2 separate regions of the Homo sapiens genome follow, and region 1 is linked to region 2. Evidence: promoter capture Hi-C in 16 types of primary human blood cells and fetal thymus (Javierre and others, 2016). All regions are on one chromosome and are shown on one strand. The core of a region is centred on a gene start or on the middle of the fragment in contact, and the rest is flanking DNA. Distances in the headings are between cores, read along the strand shown.

What was found. The method cuts DNA at HindIII sites, captures the fragments that hold promoters and counts their contacts. A CHiCAGO score of 5 or more calls a contact.
Region 1: a fragment that was not itself captured here is called in contact with the fragment with the promoter of NOC2L in region 2 in 1 of 17 cell types (naive CD8 T cells); the score reaches 5.3 in naive CD8 T cells.

The regions. Positions count from the first base shown.
Region 1 is chr1:1,368,089-1,374,420 of GRCh38, forward strand. It overlaps AURKAIP1 (aurora kinase A interacting protein 1), which reads right to left. Exons shown (of 4, transcript NM_017900.3): 3 at 5,912-6,332; 4 at 5,648-5,814. The coding sequence ends at 5,713. Among named protein-coding and RNA genes, the nearest start is that of AURKAIP1, 4.0 kb to the right of the region's middle. RefSeq lists silencers at 3,673-3,722, 3,981-4,275 and an enhancer at 3,850-4,617. The HindIII fragment of the contact is 2,312 bases long and covers 2,051-4,362 here.
Region 2 is chr1:955,040-961,098 of GRCh38, forward strand. NOC2L (NOC2 like nucleolar associated transcriptional repressor) reads right to left here and starts at 4,217. Exons shown (of 19, transcript NM_015658.4): 1 at 4,176-4,217; 2 at 3,890-4,042; 3 at 2,060-2,234; 4 at 1,855-1,986; 5 at 1,056-1,176; 6 at 884-974. The coding sequence starts at 4,201. It overlaps KLHL17 (kelch like family member 17), which reads left to right and starts at 5,545. Exons shown (of 12, transcript NM_198317.3): 1 at 5,545-5,761. The coding sequence starts at 5,655. RefSeq lists enhancers at 3,485-4,342, 4,001-4,110 and silencers at 4,221-4,480, 5,439-5,748, 5,769-6,059. The HindIII fragment of the contact is 14,217 bases long and covers 1-6,059 here.

The sequences.
Region 1 (6,332 bases), core at 1,957-4,456, 410 kb after region 2:
CACTGCAGGTCAACCTCCCAGGCTCAAGTGATCCTCCTACCTCAGCCTTCTGAGTAGCTGGGACCATAGGTGGGCACAACCACACCTGGCTTTTTTTTTTTTTTTTTTTTTTTTTTTTTTTTTGTAGAGATGGGGTCTTGCTCCATTGCCTAGGCTGGCTTTGACCTACCAGGCTCAAGTAATGCACCTGTTTCAGCCTCCTGAAGTGCGGGATTACAGGCAGGAAGGTGCAGCAAGACTAGAATAGGCAATATCTCAGTTTATTGTACTTATGAGAGATACTATTCTGTACAACTTTCAATGGTGGGTGTGTTCATCAGATAGCGGTGTAAAAAGATATTTCTTATTTTGTATCTTGATCAAAAAAGTCTGAAAGTAGGCTGGGTGTGGTATCTCACACCTATAATCCCAACACTTTGGGAGGCCAAGGCAGGAGGATCATTTGAGGCCAGGAGTTTGAGACCAGGCTGGGCAACTTAGTGAGACTCCATCTCTGCTGGAAAAAAACATTAGCTGGGCCTGGTGGTGTATGCCTGTAGCCCCAGCTACTTGGGAGGCTGGCTTGAGCCCAGGAGTTACAGGCTGCAGTGAGCTATAATGGCACCACTGCACTGCAGCCTGGGCGACAGAGGGAGACCCTGCCTCTTAAAAAATAAAAATAGGTCTGGCTGGGCGTGGTGGCTCACGCCTGTAATCCCAGCACTTTGGGAGGCCGAGGCGGGCAGATCACCTGAGGTCAGGCATTTGAGACCAGCCTGGCCAACATGGTGAAACCCTGTCTCTAATAAAAACACAAAAATTAGCCGGGCGTGGTGGTGCATGCCTGTAGTCCCAGCTAGCAGGGAGGCTGAGGCAGGAGAATTGCTTGAACCTGGGAGGTGGAGGTTGCAGTGAGCTGAAATCGCGCCACCGCACTCCAGTCTCGGGACAGAGTGAGATACTGTCTCAAAAAAAAAAAAAAAAAGGTCTGAAAGTCACCAACTTTAAAACATGGTACTACCGCAAGAATCATTTAAAAGGACTAAAATTGCCTCTGGGAAAGGTGGTGTGGGGATGGGGGAAGAGATACTGTTTTCCTTTATTTTTGAGATGGAGTCTCACTCTATCCCTCAGGCTGGACTGCAGTGGTGCGATCTCGGCTCACTGCAAGCACCACCTCCCGGGTTCACGCCATTCTCATGCCTCAGCCTCCCGAGTAGCTGGGACTACAGCCGCCCATCACACCTGGCTAGTTTTTTGTATTTTTAGTAGAGATGGGGTTTCACCATGTTGTCCAGGATGGTCTCGATCTCCTGACCTCAGGTGATCCACCCACCTCGGCCTCCCAAAGTGCTGGGATTACAGGCGTGAGCCACCGCACCCAGCCAACTGTTTTTCTTAAAGGAATCTTTTTTCTTTTTGGAGACAGGGTCTCGCTCTGTCACCCAGGCTGGAGGGCACTAGCACAACGGCAGCTCACCGCAGCCTCGAACTCCTGGGTTCATGCATCCTGTCACCTCGGCCTCTGGAGTAGCTGGGACTACAGGTACACACCACCATGCCCAGCTGATTTTTTATTTTGTAAAGACAGGGTTTCACTATGTTGCCCAGGCTGCTCTTGGAGTCCTGGCTTCATGCGATGCTCCCAGCTCCCAAAGTGCTGGGATGACAGGCGTGAGCCACTGCGCCTGCTGGTGACTTCTTAAACAATTAAACTAGCCACGTACAAGCATAACTTTTTTTTTTTTTGAGACGAAGTCTTGCTCTGTCGCCCAGGCTGGAGTGCAGTGGCATGATCTCAGCTCACTGCAAGCTCCACCTCCAGGTTCACGCCATTCTCCTGCCTCAGCCTCCCGAGTAGCTGGGACTACAGGCGCCTGCGACCATGCCTGGCTAATTTTTTGTATTTTTAGTAGAGACGGGGTTTCACCATGTTAGCCAGGATGGTCTCGATGTCCTGACCTCGTGATCCGCCCGCCTCCGCCTCCCAAAGTTCTGGGATTACAGGCGACAGCCACCGCGCCTGGCCCACAAGCATAACTTTTATAAAAATAATTTACTTTTACAATTAAGCTTAGGAATCACACAGACTCAGGGCTGGCTCATGGCTTCCCGGCAAGTTAAACTCTGTACTTAGGCTCGGCGCGTATGAAATGGCTAATTCTAATCAGTGGTGCAATGAAGTAACTCCTCTAAAGAACTTATCGGGCCGGGCGCAGCGGCTCACGCCTGTAATCCCAGCACTGTGGGAGACCGAGGCGGGCAGATCACGAGGTCAGGAGTTCGAGACCAGCCTAACCAACATGGTGAAACTCCATCTCTACTAAAAATACAAACATTAGCTGGGCACAGTGGCACACACTTGTAGTCCAAGCTGCTCAGGAGGCTGAGGCAGGAGAATCGCTTGAGCCTGGGAGGTGGAGACTGCAGTGAGCCGAGATTGCACCACTGCACTTCAGCCTGGCGACAGAGAAAGACTCCATCTCAAAAAAAAAAAAAAAAAAGTAGTAACCTAAGAATGAGAGAAACATGGCATTCAGAAACAGGACCCAGACTCCTCCAGCCTGAAATAGGAATGTTCTTTCCCCCCTCCCAGTGCCCTTCCCGGGAGGCTCGGGGGGTCCAGCCCAGGGAAGCCAGCTTTCCTCCCAGACTCCACTCCACGCCGAGGGTCTCTGTTGCCACCGCCAACCTGCGTGCTTCTCAGACGGCGTGTTCAGTGAGTGCTCAGCTCGGCTCCCTGGAGGTTCTGGGCTTGGCACACACGTGTGCTGCCTCCCTGCCCCCCAACACACACACATCTGAAGCAGGCAGGGCCCTGGGTGGGCACCGGGGGTGGGAGCTGAGGGCCTTGCCCATGGTCCATGAAAGCTCTGAAGCCATAGCTCTGCGGCTGGTCAGGCCCCAGGCCCCAGGCTCGGCCCCCGCGGAAGGCGCAGAAGACACCAGCTTGCCAGGGACGCAGCAGCCAGAGGAAGAGGCGTGGGGCTGAGTTCACCAACGTGCCCCATTATGGAGGCCACTGATGAATGCCACCACTGGGCGTGAGGTTGGGGCACCATCCCCACTGACCAGGACCATCCCCAGCAGAGCCAAGTCCTGGTTGGAACTGGAGCTCTGAACACCACCAGGACACGCTGTGGTGAGGGGCAGGTCGCTGGCAGCTCCACAGGCCCCCAGCCCAGCCCACCCCACCTCTGGCCCCTCACCCAGGTGATGCCCAGGGCCAGAACAGGGGAGAGGCAACAGAGAGAGGGGGGTGCATGTCTCACAGGCAGGGGCAGGGTGGAGGCCCCACAGAGAAGAGGGGAGGGACGGCCTCTTGTGGCCTGGGAGCAACCGCAGAGATAAAAATAAAACCCCAAAATTGCTTCCCAAGGTTGTGGTTGGGCAACAAAGGCTTCCAAGCCAAGGCAGGGTGAGCTCTGCAGGCTGGGCAGGATGTGGGTCTGCAGGAGGGGCCTGGGTTGCGGGAGCTGGAGTGGACAGCTGAGGCACCGCCTCGCCGGGATGGTGACGTCTGGAGCAGGGGTACCCACCGCTGCTGACGTGAGCTGATGGGTTCGTCGTGGGGATGTCCTCATGGTGCAGGGTGTGTGGCAGCATCCCTGGCCTCCACCCACCCATGCCAGTAGCACCTCCCACTGACAACCACAGATGTCTCCAGATGCGGCTCAAAGCCATGGTTGACCTGCCTCCCAGGAGCACCCCAAGCCGGCCCCCACGCAGGGGTGGAGGAGGCCGGGGCCAAGGGGGGTCCCAGGGCTGTGCCTGAGCTGGGTAGGGCTGCTCCCCACCACGGGCTGCCCAGCTGAGCTCTGCAGGCTAGGACTCTGGACAGGTCCACTCAGCTTCCCACATCTCCTCCCTCATACAGGGAAGGGGGAGGTGAGCCCGGGATGGAAGGAAACGCGGGGGGGCAGCAGCACTACAGAGGGTGCCAGTGGTGGCCAAGAGCACCGGGAGGCTGGGGCAGGGCCAGGCTTGGCACTGAGCGGGCTCCACTTCACCTGGGAGAGTTTCGGCCCTGGGAGCCCTGCCCCACTCACAGCTGGGAAAACAGACCCAGGAATGATGCCTGTGACCCCAGCTGGGGCCCCACAAGACGCTTCCTGCCACCTGTCCTGGTCCCCAGCCCTGGACCCAGGAGCCCGGCTGCTGCCCCCCTGTGGTGGTCTGGGGAAGCGCACTTCCACCCGCTACAGCCTCCAGACCCCTCCGTGCACTCAGGGACCCACAGCCAAGGCCTACTGACCTCGCTGGCTGGCACGTCCAGGGCCCAACTCCCAGGACAATGTGTGACCCACAAGTTCGTCCTGTTCTAGAGAAACTGCTGGGAATAGCGCTCAAGTCCTCCCCAAGGTCTGATGGGCAAGGAACTCAAGCTTGAGTCTCAGACACATTTCTGTGACAAAAGACAAGAGGCCCCCACGTCTCTGGTGAGAGGCAGCCCAGCCTTCAGCCTTCACACACGGTGGGGGAGAGGCTGCGGCTCCAGAGCCTCCACTCAACCGCCTGGGGCGGACGCAAAGGCCCCTCTCCTGTCGCTGAGCTGTTGGGGGCAGCAGCTTCCCAGTGCCCACCCATGCCCTGCTACCCAAGTCCAAGGGCCCCTGCACATCCCTGCTCTTAGGAATACCATGTTCCAGCCAGGCGCAGGGGCTCACGCCTGTAATCCCAGCACTTTGGGAGGCTGAGGCGGGCAGATCACTTGAGGTCAGGAAATCGAGACCATCCTGGCCAACATGGTGAAACCCTGTCTCTAACAAAAATACAAAAATTAGCCGGGCTTGGTGGCGGGCACCTGTAATCCCAGCTATTCAGGAGGCTGAGGCAGGAGAGTCACTGGAACCTGGGAGGGAGAGGCTGCAGTGAGCTGAGATCGCACCACTGCACTCCAGCCTGGGTGATGGAATGAGACTCTTCCTCAAAAAAAAAGGGGGGGGGAATAATGCGTTCCTCCTCTTCACCCAGAGGAACGTGGAGACACCAGGGGCCTCTGGCTCAACCTAAGCCTCAGGGATTCTTCGGCCCTGTAAACGAGACCCTTTCCTCAGCCACCCCCCAGCCCCGAACCCCTTCTGGGACAACTCTTCCTGCTTAGTCCCCACGTCCACTCAGGGCCCCAGGAGATGGCAGACATGCCTGGGAAGGCCAACACCCTGGCCCTGTAGCCGGAAAGCTTGGAGGGCCACTGGAGGATCACGTCCACGGAGCCTGGCGGGCACCATCCACCACTGCCAGTGGTACCAGAACCTTTCCTGCCTTCCCAATGAGGCCCTCCCCGACCCTCCACTCATGAAATACACCTGAATCACCCCGTGCATTCCGGGTGCTCCCTAAACCCCAGTCCTGTCCCCCTGTACTTCTGCCATCCGGGTCGGCCTCCCCAGGGAATGTGGTGCTCAGGGAGGGGCTGTGGGATCTGTTCACAGTGATCCCACAGCACCTAGCCTGAACTGCACACAGCACACATTTGCTCACAGCGAGGCTGGGGCTCCTACAGGCCCAGCACCCTCTGGACGGCGGCCAAGAGCCAGCTAGAGAGAGGGACGGCCAATCTGCCACCCTGCTGCCCGGGTCTTCTGCAACACCTGGGACTGGCAGCAGCCTCAATCCTGAGAGACCTCACACCCGGCAAATGGAGCTCCAGACCCGCAGGAAAGGCTGAGTCCTCTGAGAATTTATTACTACGGATCACAGCAGCAACGGGCGGGAAGGGCGGCGCCAGACTCATTTGCCCCGCAGGTAGATCTTGGGGGTCTGCCAGCCTTCGGGGGCTTCCTTTAGCCCCGCCTTCAGCCAGATGCGCCTCAGGTCTTTCTCGAACTTGATCTGCAAGACGCAGAGAGAGGGACCGCCAAGTAATTCGTGGCAAAGAAACGTGTTCTCAGCACTTTGCCCTCCCAGGGCCAAGCAGGGGGCCACTCACCTGCTTGCGTCTCAGGCGTCCCTCCTGGACCTTCCTCCGCAGGAACCGCGTCTTCTTCACCAGCTTCCGGTACTTGTGGTGGTTCATCTTCCGCCGGCGGATCTTCAGCACGTTTTTGCACTGAATTTGAGGCGCATCCGCGACGCCTTCATCCCCCTGCTCGGCCCCTTCCCCTATCTGGCTGGGCGGACACTGGTAGGATTGCGGTGGAGCCACAGTCCCTGCGGTCCCGGTATCCAGTCTGGGCAGGAAGCAGCGGGCCGTGAGCCAGCTCTCCAGGGGGCTGACGGACATCTTCCTGGGGACCAGCATCTCCTCCAGCTCCAGCTGGGCCCCCTTGCGAGGGAGAGAGGCCGCCCTACCTGGGCCGGCCGGCGATGTGCTGTAAAGGGGCCCGCAGACCCGGCTGCCCAGCACTCCA
Region 2 (6,059 bases), core at 2,967-5,466:
TCTGCTCCCCACGGCCTGACTCCCTCCGGTACAGCTGCTGCCTCGACAGGGGTCCCTGACCTGGTGGCTCAGGCTGCAGTGCGTGCTGCCTCCCAATCGCTGCCTGTCCCTCCACCCCCATCTGCCAGCTTCCTTGTCCCCTTCGGACAGCACTGCCTCCATGTGGACATGGCTCTGTTCTATCCGTCCAGCCCCGACCACTACCACCAGCAACAGTGCCCCTGTCTCCTGAGCCGCTGTCGGCGAGACCTCTCCTGTGGGTCTCCTTTCTTCCTTTGAAGGTGTCCTGGGGCAGTTCCAACTCTAGGCCTCCACTGCCTCAAGGTCACATGGCTGCACAGCCCCGGAACCCCAACGTGCTCCATGCTCTACCAAATGCTTGGCCGTGCGTCTCTCTTCTCTGAAAACCTTCCACGGCCTTCTCTGCCCAATCTTTCTCTAAAGGGGAAGTTGAGGCCCTCAGGTTCTCAGCATTGATGAGGCCCCTGTCTACAGACACACACAGCTCCAGGAAACAGGCCAGTCATAGTGCAGAGATCAAGGAGTATGGACAGGACTTACAAGTTCTTACAAAGGGAAATAGAGCAAGAACCCTAACCTGGGAAAATCTGAGAGCAAAGGCAGCTGCACACGCCACACCTTCTGAGACTCTGAGCAGACAACTTCCCTTTTCAGGAAGGAAAGAAGGTGGGGCCGCTCCAACTGGCCCCAAGTGCCCAGCCTCTCCCAACGGTCCCTCGTGCCCCGCTGCCTTCTCAGGGTCCCCAAGAAGACGCTGGCTCTGTTGCCATGTCTCTGTCCTAGCCACAAGGCCTCTGGCTTCTCCTGTGTGTGGTCCCGACCCACCTTCCACCCTACCCCCCTTCACCCCCTCCCCTCTTACCTGCTGCTATCCTTTGCCACCTTTCCAAACAGCAGCTTCTGGAGACAGCCAATGAGGTCTCTGATGCAGAAGGTAACCAGAGCATTGAATGCTGCAACGAAAAGGCCTGGATGTACTCACGGGACAGAGAACGCAACAGACAGCCTGGATGCCAGGCTCCCCCCAAGCTCACCAGCACTGTCCGTGACCTGGAATTTGTTGGCCTCAGCACTTTCCTGGTCCCCTCGGGTGGTGGCCACAGCTGCTCGGAACGCCTGTACCACTTCATGGAACAGCTTTGGAGTGAGGCGTTGCTGAAGGAGCAAGAGTACCAGGGGCGTCAGGGGAGCTGAGACTGCACTTGGCAGAGTGGAAACGGCAGCCCCAGAGAAAGGCACCCTCACCCTCACCCTCAGACATAGGGCAGAGGTTGGGGGGAGGCACAGAGCCCCATACTGATAACAAAAATGGAAACAAAGTCTAGAATTCTCTGGGAAGAGGAGGGAGTCTGGCTCAGGAGCCCCAGGAAAAGGACTGGGAGTTCCAGATCCTGGACTATGGCCACCTCCAGGTGGTATCTGGAGCTCTCCGTATCCTTGTCCCTGGAAAAAAACACTGTGAGAGGCTCAGAAGGACCCCAGCTCCACCAACCAACAAAGGCACAGTCCGTCCCACCCACAGCGGGACTGACTTTGGGGAGTGGGGCGCCAACAGAGCCCCTGGAATCTACCCAAAAGTGAACACACAGTCCTGGGGCAACCAAGCAAGCAGGAGGAGCAACGTGTTGTCACTTGCGCTGAAGAAGGCTCCAAGCGTCCCCTGCGTGGAGAACAGCCCCTCCCACCAGCACAGCCTCAGGCGCCTCAGGTGAGGCAAGGCCAGATCTCTGCCTGGGCACCCAGCTGCCCGCCCCTCGCTGCTGCTCACCTCAGGTGAGGCAAGGCCAGATTTCTGCCTGGGCACCCAGCTGCCCGCCCCTGGCTGCTGCTCACCTTTGCTGCCTGCTTCCATCTCTCAACCATGGCGACGGTCACAGGAACAGAATTCTTCTTCCCCTTCAGCCCTCTGGGGACTCTGTCCCCATCTTCTCCTTCCTCCGCTCCATCCTCCTCCTCACTGGCTTCCTGCACAGAAAGGCTGAGCTGAAGGAGAGTGTAGAGACAAGTGCCCCCCTTCTGGTTTGGCCCACGCCCTCACCTCCAGCACATCTGGCAGGGAGTGGAACGGCCCCTCTTCCTCCTCAGAGCTGTCCGAGTCGCTGAAGTTTAGCAGGCTCTGGTCATTCTCCTGCAGGAACTTGTAGAACTCGGGGTCTCTGTCCTTCAGCCGAGAGAGCTGGTCTTTGTGCTCAGAGGCACGGCCTTTACGCCGGCTGAGGAGGCAGAAGTCAGCGACCCCAGTGGGAAGTGGAAGTAGAGGGGGCGGGGAGTGGCCTACAGGGTCAGTCTACTCCCTTCACAAGGGTTACCAACTAGCAAGACAGGATTGCCAGGAGGTACGTTTTTGGCAGACTCACGTCTCCTACCCAACAACCTCTACAACATACCCTCAAACACACTACACAGGCCCCCCAGCCGCGGTCTTCCCTGGACTTGCTGTGCCTGCGCCCTGCGCTACACAGGCCCCCAGCCGCGGTCTTCCCTGGACTTGCTGTGCCTGTGCCCTGCGCTACTTTTGCCTGATGGTGGCTTCACCCTTCCAGAGGCTCAGACTAAAGGCAAATCTCTGTCTCTAATACCCAGCACGCAACTTGTCATCAGATCTCATCAGCAACACCTTCAAAACCGTTCGTGCCTCCTCTCAAACCACCACATAGTTCAATTCTCAGTTAACCTAAAGGTCTCTCTGTTTCCACCCTTGTCACCTACAAGGCACTCCACCGCTCAAACCCAGAAGTAACTCCCTGTTTTACGAGGCAATCTTATGACGGTCTACGGCACCTGGCTCTTCATCACCCTTCTGGGCTCATCTACCCCTATTCACCCCCTCACTCCTGCCGTAGCCACGTTTACCTCTGTACTCTCCCCAAATGCTCCCACTGCAAGGCTTTTGCTGTTTTCTGCTGCCTGAAATCCTAAGACACGTTTCCCCTACTGTCTGTGTGGCCTCCTTGTTCGAGGTCTTTATTCAGACGTCATCTTCTCAAACAACCACCTCCGCTTTTTTTTTTTTTTTTTTTTCTCCTGAGGCGGAATCTCACTCTGTCGCCCAGGCTGGAGTGCAGTGGCGCAATCTCCACTCACCGCAACCTCCGCCTCCCGGGTTCAAGCGATTCTCCTGCCTCAGCCTCCCGAGTAGCTGGGACGACAGGTGTGTGTCACCACGCCAGGCTAATTTTTGTATCTTTTGATTTCTTTCTTTTTCTTTTTGAGATGGAGTCTCACTCTCTCACCCAGGCTGGAATGCAATGGTGCCATCTCGGCTCACTGCAACCTCCGCCTCCCAAGTTCAAGCGATTCTCCTGCCTCAGCCTCCCGAGTAGTTGGGATTACAGGTGCCCACCACGCCCGGCTAATTTTTATATTTTTAGTAGAGACATGATTTTTCCGTGTTGGTCAGGCTGGTCTCGAATTCCTGACCTCAGGTAATCTGCCCGCCTCGGCCTCCCAAAGTGCTGGCATTACAGGCGTGAGCCACCGAGCACAGCCTCCGCTCCTTCTAACAGAGCAACTCGGCTCCCCTGCAACTCTCTCTTCAGCCCCTCTGTCCTTCCTTTCCCTCCCCAGCACTTATCTCTCTTCTACCGAACTGCAGGCGGTGATTTCACCCAAGAACGTGAGAGTTCTCCTAGATCGGGAAGAGATTTTTGCACAACTCACCAACATACGCTCCCTGCCTAGGACAGAGTTTGGCACGGAACAGGAGCTCAGTAAACATCGGATGAAAGAGTAAGTTAAGCTGAAAGGACTGGGGGGCAGAGGTCGGCGATCCTTAGGCCTTGGCCCTGAGACCCCAGGCGAGGTCAGCAACCCAACCGGGGTGGGACAGGACGAGCAAGAGGTTCTGCTCACGCATGTCCCCACTAACCTGGCCGAGGGGCTCCCGCCCGGCTTATCCGGACTCCGGGCAGCCTCGCGTGCTTCCCGTGTCTCCGCTTGTGGAGAATTTTCGGACTCGGATTCGGACTCGGAGTCAAAGCCCGAAGCTAGGAACTCGTCCACCGTCAGCTCCGCCAGGCGCCTGCGGGTCACGCAGGAGTCACAGCTGCCCGCACGCCCAGCTCGCCCCAGCCCCGCTGAGAGGAGCAAGAAAAGCCCCCTTGGATACAGACACCCACCGGGAGGCCAAATCGGCCCTCGGACCCGCGGCTTACCTCTTGCGGCTCCCCGCAGCTGCCATGACACCAACCCGAAGCGTGCACCCCACTTCCGGCCCCAGAATGCCGCGCGGCTGCGCACTTCCGCCGCCCAGGCCCCGCCCCTTTCCCCGCCCCGCCGCGCCACGCCCAGCCGAGTGGCTCTATGGTTCTCCGACCGCAACGCCGGCGGCCTCAGGGCGGGAGGGCGCGTTCGCGTGCTCGGTGCGGGCAGCCCCGGTGGGGCCCAGATGCGCCTCCCGCTCGGCGCCCGGCTCCGTAGGACGCGGTGACGCCGGTGTCCGCCCCGGGGAAGACCGGGAGTCCCGCCGCGCCCGCAGCCCACCCGGCGCTCCGAAGGCACGCGCCTGCGAGGACGCCAGACTGCAACGGCGGGGCTCCTATGCAAAGAGCTCCCACAAATCAACAATAAAAAGCAGGGAGTCCAGTGGAAAACGCGAGGGGCAGTGGGAACCGCACTGATGTCGCCAGCTCGACAAAAGACGGGCGACCCGAGGGCCAGGCTGGCTTCGCCTCCGATCCGCGGAGACCGGGCCAGCGCCACGAACACCACGCAGGGCGCTCCCCGTCCATGGCCCTCTGGGTGCCGACCGCGGCTCTTCCCGGGGACGCCGCACGGGACGAAGACGGTGGGGAGGCCGGCGCCTTCCTTCCCGCTACCAGCCTGACACCCGGGCCCCCGGGCCTGGACAGCCAGACCCCGCGACAAGGGCGCCGCGGGGCGCAGGCACGGCTCCCCCAGCCCTGGCGCTGAGGGGGCGCGTGAGGCGAACACGGGCGGATTGGCCTCGGGGTCCCATTCGACTTCTTGGTGCCGCGGGGCCCCGGGGCTCCCCGGAGGAGAGCAAGTTAGGGGGTCGGGGGAGCGGGGATGGCTTCCGGGGGAGGAGGAGGGCGAGGCCTGGGGGGCTCCTCGGAGGAGGAAGAGGGCGAGGCTTAGGGGGGCTCCTTGGAGGAGGAGGAGGGCGAGGCTTAGGAGGGCTCTTCGGAGAAACAGGAGGGCGAGGCCTGTGGGGGGCTTCCCGGGGAAGAAGGAAGGCGAGACCTAGGGGGGCTTCCCGGAGGAGGAGGAGGAGGAGGGCTAGGCCGGGGGCTTCCCAGAGGAGGAGGATGGCGGGGCCTGGGGGGCTTCTCGGAGAAGGAAGATGGCGAGGCCTAGGGGGGCTTCTCGGAGGAGGAGGAGGGCGAGGCCTGGTGGGGGGCTTCCCGGAGGAGGAGGATGGCGGGGTCTGGGGGTGCTTCTCGGAGGAGGAGGCGGACCCGGGGCGCAGCGCTGGAAGAATCCGCGTCCAACGTCTAGTCCCCGAAGCCTCTCGGGAGGCGGGGCGGGCGGCGCCGAGAAACAGCGGCTGCGGGCGGGAGCGGCGGGAGTGAGCGACACAGAGCGGGCCGCCACCGCCGAGCAGCCCTCCGGCAGTCTCCGCGTCCGTTAAGCCCGCGGGTCCTCCGCGAATCGGCGGTGGGTCCGGCAGCCGAATGCAGCCCCGCAGCGAGCGCCCGGCCGGCAGGACGCAGAGCCCGGAGCACGGCAGCCCGGGGCCCGGGCCCGAGGCGCCGCCGCCTCCACCGCCGCAGCCGCCGGCGTGAGTGGGCGGGGGTCGGGGCGCGGGGGGCGGCCTCGGGACCTGCGCGGCCCCCGCCCTCGCGTCCGCTCGCAGAAGGGGCGGGGGCCGCTTCCGAGGGCCGGGGGAGGTCGGGACTCAGGTGCGGAGCGGGGTCGGCCCGGAGTAGGTTCCCCACCCGCGCCCCGCGCGCCCAGGACGCGACTCCCGCTGCGGTCCCGAGAGGGCGGCTAGGGACGCGGAGGAGCTGAGCTCGTGGGGGCGCCGGGAAGCGGGGCCGGACGCGGGGCTCTGTTCGCGGCTCTGACTACGCCCCAGG